Linked DNA regions of Homo sapiens: region 1 is linked to region 2. The links are contacts of gene promoters, found by promoter capture Hi-C in human tissues and cell types (Jung and others, 2019). All regions are on one chromosome and are shown on one strand. Each heading gives the region's core, a stretch centred on a gene start or on the middle of the fragment in contact. The rest is flanking DNA. Distances are from core to core; before and after follow the strand shown.

Region 1 (5,797 bases), core at 3,298-5,797, 1.1 Mb before region 2:
TGCAGGAGAGCGAGACTGCGGAGGGCAGCCTCCACCCACCTCCGGTGGGGCATCTGGGCTTGCTTCTGAATAACCAGCTGGAAAGCCTGCCCTGCCCGCCAGTTCTGGGGGAAGGGAAGCTGGAGGCCCAGGACAGTTCTCTTGATTTGCAAGCTCACGAAACAGTGCGTCAGCAAAGCAGTGCCCCTAGAAGGGTTGTGAGTGTATTCAGGTGCCTGGGTGATGGTGGTCTGTGGACTCCGAAGCCTGAGCTATTCCTCCGTCTGAGAATCCGTGGGTTTGGTTGTCTAGGTCAGGGTAGGCAGCAGCCAGGAGAGTTCTGACCCCAGGAGACACTCACTCACTCACCCCAGAAATATCCAAAACAGGGGCTCTCAGCCATGGAAATCACCTAGAGATCTTGAAAGTACCCCGATGCCCAGCCCCACCCCAGAGAATCTGCTGTCATCAGTTTGGCAGGGGCCTGGGCATGGGGATCTCAGAACTCTGTGGGAGGTTCTCACATGCAGCCCAGTCTGGGCATGGGCCCCCATAACACAGGCAGGAGGCGGGGAAGTGAAGGGGCTTTCTCATCTGAACCTCCACAATCAACCCCCAGTGGCAAAGTGCCAAACCCTCAAACACAAGTCTAATTTCAAAAACAACACCCCTCCACCCACCATAGCTTCGTATGTTTAATGTAAAATAAGGTCATAAAGACAAAACACTCATATAATCAGTTCATGAAAGAAAGGGCATTTTAACACCCCATTCAAACTTTTTCTTTTTCAAAAATGAAAGTTAGCTCTTTCAATTGTACGTTTATCATGAAAAACTCTATCTGATTTATTTTTCTCCTTTTTGAGAAATGGGAGAAAACTATTACAGACAAGAATTACTGTCTGAACTGCCTTGAGCCTCAGTTTTCCCATCTATTAAACGGGGATTTAAAAAAAAGTCTCCACCCAAGTCATTCTGGTTTGCCCAGGGTTTTCCAATTTTAACATAAGAGTCCTGTGTCCTAGAGCATCCTCACTCCTGGAAAAAGCTTGAAGATGGTCACCATCACACTATTTTCTATAGGTGTCTGATCATGAGAATCACTGGGGCATTTGCTAAAAATACAAATTCCAGGGCCCCAAATTGACTTTTCGGTGAGAGGATCACAGGAATCAGAAATGTTGCTGGATTCCTCGGTAGAGTCTCACTACCGGGCACCTGTGGGAGAAACTGGCTTCAAAGAGCAAGGATCATACCCGTGAGAGTCCTACTCATGCTAACTCTTGTGCAGTCCTCTTTATGTGCCAGGCCCTGTTCAGGGCACTTTGCTTATATTCACTGGTTTGACTCCATACCAGCCCCTTGAGATGGAGGCTATAATTATCCCCATTTTTACAGATGAGGAAACTGAGGCCCAGCGAGGCTCAGTGATGCTCAGGGATTCCAAACTCCAGAGCCCACATTCCTATCCTATGTGCTACACTGATGTCTACATAGAGCTTCAGCACTGGGCTGGCATACGGCAAGCTCTCCATACAAGTCATATATGGTTATCATTATTACGAGTTCCAGGACCTTTGGGGCACTGAAGGAGTTGCCATCTTCTTGCCAACTGTGAACAGAAGGCTTCATTGCAAAACATCAAAATGCTTCTTTCAGCCTTCCCAGTTGTTTGGACCTAGTCCTGTAGGCTGAATTCATTTCTGCTAATATTGACATCAGCCAATAGATGGCAGTAACCTTTTGCTTTTGTCCCACCCAGATGAATCCTGTTCTTTAAAAGGTTGATGGACAGGCAGGAGCAATTTCACGACACATGCATTATATCTGCTGGTGGAGAGTGACAATATCTGAATCCAGGTTATCACTGAAAAAGACACGCCATTAGATTTTCCTTCTTTCAGGGCCCTTCACCTTGAAGTGGCCGAGAGGCTACTTAGGGTGTGCAATGATCAGAATAATGTAACCCCAACTCTGTGGGAAGAAAAATCTTCTCTCCTACTTCTGTACACCATGCGTCTTCCAGCACCAAGGTTTTTCATAACCTCAAGTGTTGATTCAAAGTAGCTTTGTTAGGATTGAATTTACATTAAATAGTAAGAGCTTTAAAATAAAGCTTGTAATCCTACTGTTAAAATAATTTTAAAACTTGTTAAAAGCTGAATTTAGATAGAGATACTTTGTGTGTATATATTCTTGCATGTGTATATATGAACGTATGTGTTTGCGCGTATCCTTGACTGAGACATTTAACCTGCGTGCCTCAGTTTCCACACCAGCAAAATTGAAATAATAATACCTCTGTCTTGTTGAATTGCTGCAAAGAGCAAATTAGTTTTACTGCAAATAAAGCTCCTAGAAGTTTCTCAACAGATGGTAAGCACTCACCAAATGTTGTTATTGTTATTACTCTATCATTTCTATGATTTTTTAGAGTTGTTGTCATTGTTTTTATACACAGTAGGCTCAAATCCTGGTAAACTTTCTGTAAAGAGCCAGATAGTAAATATCTTAGGCTTTGCAGGCCATAGGTGTCTGTTGCAACTACTCAGTTCTGCCATTATAGCATGAAAGCCATCATAGACAATATATAAATAAAAGGGCATGACTATCTTCCAGCAAAACTTTATTTATGGATGCCAAAATTTGACTTTCATATAATTTTCATGTGTCACATTCTATGATTCTTCTAATTTTTTTCCAACCATTTATAAATTTAAAACTCATTTTTAGCTCACTGGCCTACTAAAACAGGCAGTGAGCTGAATCCAGCCACCGCTGTTCTTTGCCAACCCTGGTCTTGAGGATTCAATATTATATTATTCATAATGTCCCATTAACAGACAGAAGCGATGATCTGATGCAAGTGTGTGAGTCACGGATTTTATAAATAGAAAATAGCACAAAACAACAAGTGTCCTACATGTTTTAACAGTGCTCAGCTTTATTATGTGGTATGATCAGAAGACATACAAAATCCCCAGATTTGGTTATGTATTAAATTCCTGCAAGAGAACACATGGTGAGATCCATGACCCTTTTTTTGGCCTCCTCAATATCTAATTGCTCAATGCGTCTACTACCAGGGAATAAAAACTCACACCAATGGCGAGAGATCCACAAGAATCCCTGGTGACTCATTGACTCCTTTCAGCCAGAAATCAAAAGTCCTAATTTTTATTCCGAGAGCCACTAGAGCAGATAAGCCAGAAGCTAGGTCTTTGGAGATGGGCTACATTGGAATTACATGTGCAAAAGAACTTTAGGTGGCAAGACAGCAGGCCTTTGGAGTGGCTGCAAGAGTCCTTGTGTAGGGATCAGATATACTAGGAGTCAATTCCTCACTGGATGTTTGCCCTTGGTGGGTCTTGGAGGTTCCATTCCTCCTTTTTAAGGGAAGCTAGTAATATGCAGAACATTCCGGTGGTTAGGAGCACAGCCAGACTGTGTTTGAATCTTGCTCATTAACTGGGTGACCTTTGGAAAATGATTTAACCCCCTCGAGTTTCGGCTACCTCATATGAAGAATGAAATCATGATACCTCTATCTCACAGGAGTGCTATAGGACTACATGAGACAATACAGGTGAAGCACTCCAAAATTAGAGCTTGGAATTGAGAACATGCTAAGTAATGATTTGCTATTATCATCATTATTATTATATATCATACATTATTATAACGAAGCTCTTCAGAGGTTTGGTGATGATGTGGTCATGTACCTAGGTCTGTGCCTCATATGTGAGAGATGCTATCAATCGTTATTCCCTCCATTGACTAACAATAATTAAGCTCCCAGTAAATGCAAACACACTGCTAAGATTAGGAGATACAAAATTGGGTGAAGGTAGACACTGCCTTTGACGTCAGGGTGCTTACAATTTCTTGTGGAAGGGAGACATAAATTAAATATTCAACTTTGCCCTTCACCTATGGGACAATAACCACATTAACAGTCATTTCAGAACCATCCTACCCAGCAGTGCCACAACCTGCCATCTCCCATATGATCCCATCTCACGTAATGTTATTAATTACTTTTATTCGACCAGGCGCAGTGGCTCATGCCTGTAATCCCAACACTTTGGGAGGCCAAGGCGGGTGGATCACATGAGGCCAGGCACTCGAGACCAGTCTGGCCAACATGGTGAAAACCCATCTCTACTAAAAATACAAAAAAAAAAAAAAATAGTCTGGTGTTGTGCCACGCACCTGTTATCCCAGCTACTCAGGAGGCTGAGGCAGGAGAATTGCTTAAACCCAGAAGGCGGAGGTTGCAGTGAGCCGAGATTGCACCACTGCACTCCATCCTGGGCAACAGAGAGAGACTCCGTCTCAAAAAAAAATTACTTTTATTCATAACTTAGAACCCTATGCATTTTTGTTTAATAAGCAGATATGTTTTGCTTAACATGAGCTAGACATTGTTCTAACCACGTCACAAGCATTAACTCATTGGGTCCTTATAGCAGTCTTATGAGGCACAGAGAGGCTAATTAACTCTCCCAAGGACACACAGCTACAAGGGGCAGAGAGAGGATTCATGCCCAGGCAGTCTTGCTCTAGAGTCTGTGGTCATAACCACTGTGCCATGCTGCCTTGAACTATCAGAAACAACCTCGTTTGTGGATTTATTGTTCCTATGTTAACTCTCTCCCTGTGCACCATACTTCAGCTCCATGAAGTCAGAGGGCCTTGCCTGTTTAATTTACAGCTGTAACCCTAGTGCCCAGCCCAGCAACAGGTGCAGAGCTGTGCTCAATAGACACAGTCATACACTGCATAATGATACCTTAGTCAATGATGGACCACATATACTTAGTGGTCACATGACATTATAATACTATGTATTTACTGGACTTTTTCTGTTTCGATATGTTTAGGTACACAAATACTTCCCAGTGTGTCACAATTTCCCAGAGTGTTCAATGTGGTTGCGTGCTGTGCAAGTTAGTGGCCTAGGAACGATAGGTTATACCATACAGCCTAGGAGTGTAGTAGGCTATACTATCTATGATGTTCATACAACCATGAAATCATCTAATGATGCATTTCTCAGAACATTTTCTCGCCCTTAAGTGACACATGACCATATGTGCTAAATCAGTGAAAGCATGAATATATACCCAAGTAAGTATATAATTACAAGCCCTGCTAAATGCTATGAAAAAAAAAAGGCCGTAGTGTAAAAGGTTTTAATAGGGGAATTAATTTAGTTTGAGAATCAGAAAAAAATATTATTATTTCAATTACCCTCATTCTAAAATCCTAATAGCTGTGACTTTAACTAAAAGAGAAAAAAATGCTATCTACACTGAATACACTTTTCATGATGATAAATATTTTCCCCTAGCAATGAAATGCAACTGAAAATTATGACTGCATTTAACTTTAATTCTGTTGAATACATGAGTCCAAAATCTCCTTTCTATTTCCCAAAATAAATATAAGCAATGATATAGTTTGGTTGTGTCTCTACGTAAAATCTTACCTTGAATTGTAATCCTCATAATCCCCACGTCAAGGATGGGACCAGGTGGAGGTAATTGGATCATGGGGGCGGGTTCCTCCACGCTGTTCTCGTGATACTGAGTGAGTCTCGCGAGATCTGATGGTTTTATAAGCATCTGGCATTTCCCCAGCTCGCACTCATTCTTCTGGTGTCCTGTGGAGAGGTGTCTTCTGCCACGATTGTAAGTTTCCTGCGGTCTCCCCAGCCATGCGGAACCATGAGTCAATTCAACCTCTTTTCTTTATAAATTACCCAGTCTCGGGTATTTCTTCATAGCAGTGTGAGAACGGACTAATACAAGCAATT
Region 2 (5,999 bases), core at 3,008-5,507:
AAATTTTTAACCACTCTGCATCCTGCAAAATGCAAACAAATCAAAACACCGTTCTGTTTTACTTTCCTGCCATTTTCTCTATCTCCCTTGAAATGCATAGAAGGGGAAAATGCTGGTACTGAATCCTGCAATATTTTCAGGTAATAGTGGATGTATTTTAATGGTGAGTGAAATATACATCCAAGGAAGCAAGCATGCACACACAACACAAACCCCTGGGGTACTGTAGGCTGCTTTCTCAACTTTTTTTTTCTTGCCCTAAGTAATAGTATGGTGGAATAGCATAGCTTAAGAAAGCCAGGAAGAATGACATTTCAGAGGGAAATACTCTGATTTAGCTGTTTCCTTAAAGAGAATTGTCCCCTCACATCCCTTCCCCCTGAAGGGGGAGGAACATAACAAATAAAGACTAAAATTCCTCATCACTTACAATATCATCTTGTTTATTCTGTTTAGATACCTGCTTTAGTAGAAAGTTCTGTAATTGATTCCTTGAAACATGGAACTTATAACTAATAATACAAAGGAATCAAATTGCCTGGAACAGTTCTTGGGAAAAAGAGCGCTCCGGGAGAGCCTCAGCTCGGATCCACTCACAGGCTTTTTCTATCTCCCATTATTCATTAATCAAGCTAGAAATCAAGCTTTCAACATCAGTCCTTGGGTGTAATTACTTACAGTTGTGCATTGTGTTTAATTTTAAGCAGTGATAAAAGTTAGTATGGCCATAATCTTAGAACCCACCTTCTCCCCTTCCCTGGATGTTAACTGACTACAGAACCCCAAAGTGGCTAACTTTACTTGTGAATAACCACTTCAGCTGAAATAGAGTAGGGCATTGATGACCTTAGATGAACAGAAGAAACACTGCATGAAAAACTGTCTCCTCTATTAATATGTGAGCAAATAAATAAGGTAAGAGGGCCCTCACTGTGTACGAAATGAATCATCCTTTTTCAGCTTAAAAAGGGTTTCCGCTTCTGGTGAAAATAATAAGAATCATACAAAACAAACATACAAAGACAGTAGGAATATAATAGGCCAGAAAACTGAAACTATAGTTACAAGTTTCTAACACACACACACACACACCCCCACACACCCACACACACCAATAAACTAGCCAGCACCAACAGACACAGCTTAATGAAAAGGACCTGATTTAAATAATGTGATACAGTGTTATGTTACGTACACCTGGATCCTTATCGATCGTAGGATAATTATAATCAAAGTCGAGCAATTCTGAGCAATGCACTTTTTGTAATGAGCTTACTAAAGGAGACATGTCCAGTCATTCTGGTAATTTAAATTACTGCCTAGTTGTTGATAGTCTTTACCGGAACAACCAGAAAAAAAAAAAGAGTAATTTTCAGGGCAGTATCACTTCTTGCTGGACCGTAGCCCAGGGTTCTCTTTCGGGACAACAATAAGGACGTTATCTCTAATAATGTAGCTACACTTAAACTTATGTTGCCAGAACTAGATGCAGCAGGCTCACTGTTCCTGGGTCTCAAAGGCCATTGAACACATCCACACGCTGTCAGATTGCAAAGCAGCCTAAGTTTTAGGAAATCAGTGAGTTAAATGCAGAAAGAGACAACGGTAGGAAAGAGACATTGTTTTCCAAAGAAGTAACTAGAGTTGAAAAAAGAAAACCTCACTGATGAGGCAAGTTCCAAATACGTACCTCACTAAAAATATTTTAATTATTTTGCTTTTAGGGAAACGATCAGAAAATATATGAATCCACGCTTTATCAATATTTCTGCATGCCACTTGAACCAACTTACAAATAGGGAAGCAATTCTGTGCTCAGAAGGAATGATAATTGTGGATATTTTGAAACACTCAGGCGAGGAAGGAGGATGAGCTTGGTGGTTCAACACATTCAGACAAGGGATGCCCACTCTCCTCAGATTCCTAACTAACTTTGGATTTGTTCTAAGGGTGACTTTGCAAAGTTTATGAAAGTGTTCCACCAAACTTCTCCCTATGTTTTGCTAGAGTTGGAACAGAATGAAATGTGGAGGTGGGTCTGCAGAAGACCAGTCTTACCTAATGTTGCCTAAATCAAGAGGGTAAAGACAGAGAGAGAGGAAAAAACAACTAAACTTAAGCTTTTTGCGAAAGCCCTGATTCAACTAAAGGACACAAAGAAATAAAAACGCCCACATTAAAAGCCAAACAAGATAATAATTGTGCATGTCTGGCTCTGAATATAGAGGGCAAGGTTTGCGTCACTGGCACTCTGAGTTACCATGGTGAGTGATTTATTGATATATATCAAGAATGAATAGATCAAAGGCAGCGAGATGACAGGTGATCAATCAAATGTCAAATCAAAACTAGCAATCAAGTGGAAAGCTGATTTTTCAGTGGGTGGGTCTGGCAGAAGAAAAATGAACTTTCATATTACATTTCCGAGAAACAAAACCCCAGCATACTATTAAAAAAGCAATTAAGCAACCCAAAAGAAAAAAAAACTTTAGAAGGTCTATTGTACTGATCCATTAACCTGTTCTTATCTTTTTTAGGGGGCAGTAAGGATTCAGATGGGATAGTTTTTACAGTACGAATCATTTCACAAAGTTTGCAACTCTCTAGGCAAAGAAAATCCAGAGCTGTTTAAATTTCTATGGGGAATTTCCCCCCTACAACCCTTTTTGGTTTTTTTAAAGAATAGGGAAATTGTTAATTACATTTCCAAATATGGATCCTTTTAGAAAATATATGCAAAGAGTCATCCATTTCCTGGGGGCATTTTGTCCACCTTGGTGATCAACGCTAAACTCCTATTGCTGGCCCCAAAGCCTGCCTGCAGCCCGAGTGTTAGGTATGCCTCACACTTCAGCGCCCCAAGCCCCAGTGAGAGGAGACGCTATCCCTGGAGGCCAAAAGCCACTGGCACTGACCACGCAGAGGGATGCAGGGGTGGAGGGGCTGTCTCCCTACTCCGCACCCCAAATCCTCAATCCGACTTTGGCCCGAGAGGCAAGAAACAGACTGGAAGAAAGTTAGGGGTGGGGTAGAGGGTGGAGGAAAGAAAGTTTAAGGAGGAAAGGCTTGGTGGGATAGCTCACCCCAACCCAACCGGAGCTTGGAAGGGGAGGATTTGGGAGACCAGAGAAGGCGAGAGAGGACGGGGTTATTAGAAGGGCACCCGGCGCAAACTCCCCCGAAAGCTTAAGTGGGTGGTGCCCCCGGGCACCCAGGGGCAAGGAGGGCGGGCGAGGAGCTCGGCGCACAGGGCAGCCCCGAAGCGGAGCCGTTTCTCTTACCTGCCGCCCGCTTGGGTGCCTGCTGTTTTCTCCTCGGCATCCTCTACTTCGCTCCAGTCCCACTTCTGGCGCCCCAGCCCCGAGCCGCGCGCTGGGGCCCGCTGTCTCTCTGGCCTCTCTGGGTCTCCTCCGCCTCTTGCCCGGTGGCTCCTAGGACGTCACTCGGCCTCTGTCCCCCTGACGATCCCCCCTGCAACTCCTCCACCACGGGCCAGAGACCCCCCTCTCTGGGTGGCAGACACGGGTGGCTTGTGCCGGCTGCTTTGAAGTAGAGGTTGGTTCTGCCTTGTTTGTTTGTTTGTTTATTTTGAATTTTTTTTCCTCTCTCTTTTTTGTTTTTGCTTTTGGAATTTTTTTGGTTTTGTTTTTGCGGTTTTTTTTTTTTTTGGTGACTGTTGAGACACTTGATTTCTTTATTAAACATCCAAGCCCGGGTTCGGATGGAAGGGACGAGGGGCGCACACGCGCCACAGGCACACTCGCGCGTAAAGATAAGGAAAAAAAAAAGGCAATCCTGGGAAGGTAGTGGGTTTCTTCTTTTTCTTCTTCTTCCTTCTCCTCTTTCCCTCCTCCTCCTCCTCCTCCACCTCCTCCTCCACCTCCTCCTTCTTTTCTTCCTCCTCCTCCTCCTCCTCCTCGCCGATCTCTATGGCGGATTCGTGCCGGGGGGAGAGCGATCACTCACTGTAGGTTTGTGGCTGCTGTCAGATCCCCGTCTGTGAGTGATATGCGAGAGGACAGGAGCGGGTTTTGGAAAGACAGAAAATCTGGAATTCACTCACTCACACACACACACAGACACACACACAGACACTCACACACGCACTCACACGCGCACGCACCCCCGCTTCCTCGCACACACACACTCACACCCCCCACATATGCACACACACACAAACACACACACACACCCTCGCACACACACACAAGACAGGGCGAGGCGATGCCAGCAAACATCGATCCCGCTGAACAAACTGAACATTAACAAACTCCTCCTCCTCCTCCTCTCCCCGCGACCTGATGACAGGGAGAAATTTACTCCCCAGCCGCAGAGCGCCAGGCAGCGGGAGCCTATTAAAGGGACAGCGTCCCGCAGGGGAGAGGGGCTGGGGGCGGGGGCCCCGGCGCGCCGGCCCAGGCCCCTCTGTGCGCCCTCTCCGCCGGGGCGAGGGCGTGCCCACCGGGCGCGGGGACACCCCTCCGGGAGGCGGAAGGGGCGGGGGCGGGAGGAAAGGAGGTGAGGAGGGAAGGGGTGCGGGAGAAAAGGAGGCAGTGTGATGATGGCTGAACTCTGAAGCTGGGAGGCTGTGGAGGGAGATTCAGGGGGGCCAGGTTGGCTGACCAGCAGGGACCATGCACAATCTTAGGAGAGGGAGAACTTAGGTTTGCTCGGGGCTGGGAAGGGGGAGGGGACCTTATCCAGTGAGGATCTCCATCCTGTAAGTCTTAACCTGCCCCCACCAAAATGTGCTCCCCACGACCCCTTCAATTTAGTGCCCCTGTCCCTCCCACTTTCTCGCTAATCAATGGGTGGTCACAAAAACAAAAATCTCCCTTCTGTCTACTTTAAGGTCTAATCATATACTCCTCTTTTTGTTTCCTTTGAAGAATGTTTATTGAGCATCTACTATGTGCCTATTCTGGAGACACAGAGGCCACAGAGAAAGGGAAGGTGGTGGCCATGTTGGTATTTATATTCTAATGGGGGAGTGCAGACAAGTGCCCCCCAGCTATCCAATCTTTGCTTAAATGTCCCCTTTTCCCAAAGGTCTACCTCACCTAAAATACACACACACACACACACACACACTCCCTGCCCCATTTCTCCATTTTGTTATTCCCCAGTGAGCTGATCAGTGAGTGTCACACAGGTTATAGACAGTTTTCTATTCTGTTGATTGTACAAGTTCCCCTCTTGAATGTAAGCTCCAATGGAAGGAAGGATTTTTGCCTCTTTGTTCTCTTATATCCCCAAGTGCTGGCAAAGCACAAGACATATAATAAGTGCCCAGTAAAATATTTGTTGAATGAATGAAAAGTAAGCAAGCAAATAAACAGGATACTTTGAGTGATTCGCTCCATGAAGACGTTAAGCTGAGTGCTGTAATAGTGTCTAAAAGGGGGTGGGTGGCTCTAGATTCAATGTAGGATATGGCATTTGAGCACAGAGAGATTGAAACAAACATGTGATTATTGAGTTCTGCTATCGGCCAGGCACCTTTTGAGGTGTTGGGGGCAAGTCTGTGAACAAGGTGAACCTAGACCATGCCCTCAAGGAGTGCTCCTTCCAGTGAGAGGGCAAAGCAACTGAGGGCATTTGATGCAGGCTGGGACTAGAGGTGTTTTTTTTTGCTTTATTATTTTTTTTATTTCAATAGCTTTAGGGGTAAAAGTGGTTTTCGGTTACATGGATGAATTGCATAGTGGTGAAGTCTGGGATTTCAGTGCACCCGTCACCCGAGTAGTGTACATCGTACCCAATAGGTAGTTTTTCAGTCCTCACCCCCTTCCCATACTCCTCGCTTCTGAGTTGCCAATGTCCATGATATCTTTCCATATGCCTTTGCATACCCATGCATTAGCTCCCACTTATAACCAAGAACGTGTGGTATTTGGTTTTTGATCCTGAGTTACTTCACCTAGAATAACGGCCTCCAGCTCTATCCAAGTTGCTGTGAAAGACATTATTTTGTTCTTTACTATGGCTGAGTAGTATTC

Evidence for each region. Contacts are between HindIII fragments. The study calls those that stand out against the background at their distance.
Region 1: a fragment that was not itself captured here is called in contact with the fragment with the promoter of TSHZ2 in region 2 in 1 of the 25 tissues and cell types used here (lymphoblastoid cells).

What each region holds. Positions count from the first base shown.
Region 1 is chr20:54,058,850-54,064,646 of GRCh38, reverse strand. All of the region lies in intron 1 of BCAS1 (brain enriched myelin associated protein 1), which reads left to right. Among named protein-coding and RNA genes, the nearest start is that of MIR4756, 6.7 kb to the left of the region's middle. The HindIII fragment of the contact is 5,971 bases long and covers 1,562-5,797 here.
Region 2 is chr20:52,970,616-52,976,614 of GRCh38, reverse strand. TSHZ2 (teashirt zinc finger homeobox 2) reads right to left here and starts at 4,257. Exons shown (of 3, transcript NM_173485.6): 1 at 3,282-4,257. The coding sequence starts at 3,321. The HindIII fragment of the contact is 6,451 bases long and covers 2,654-5,999 here.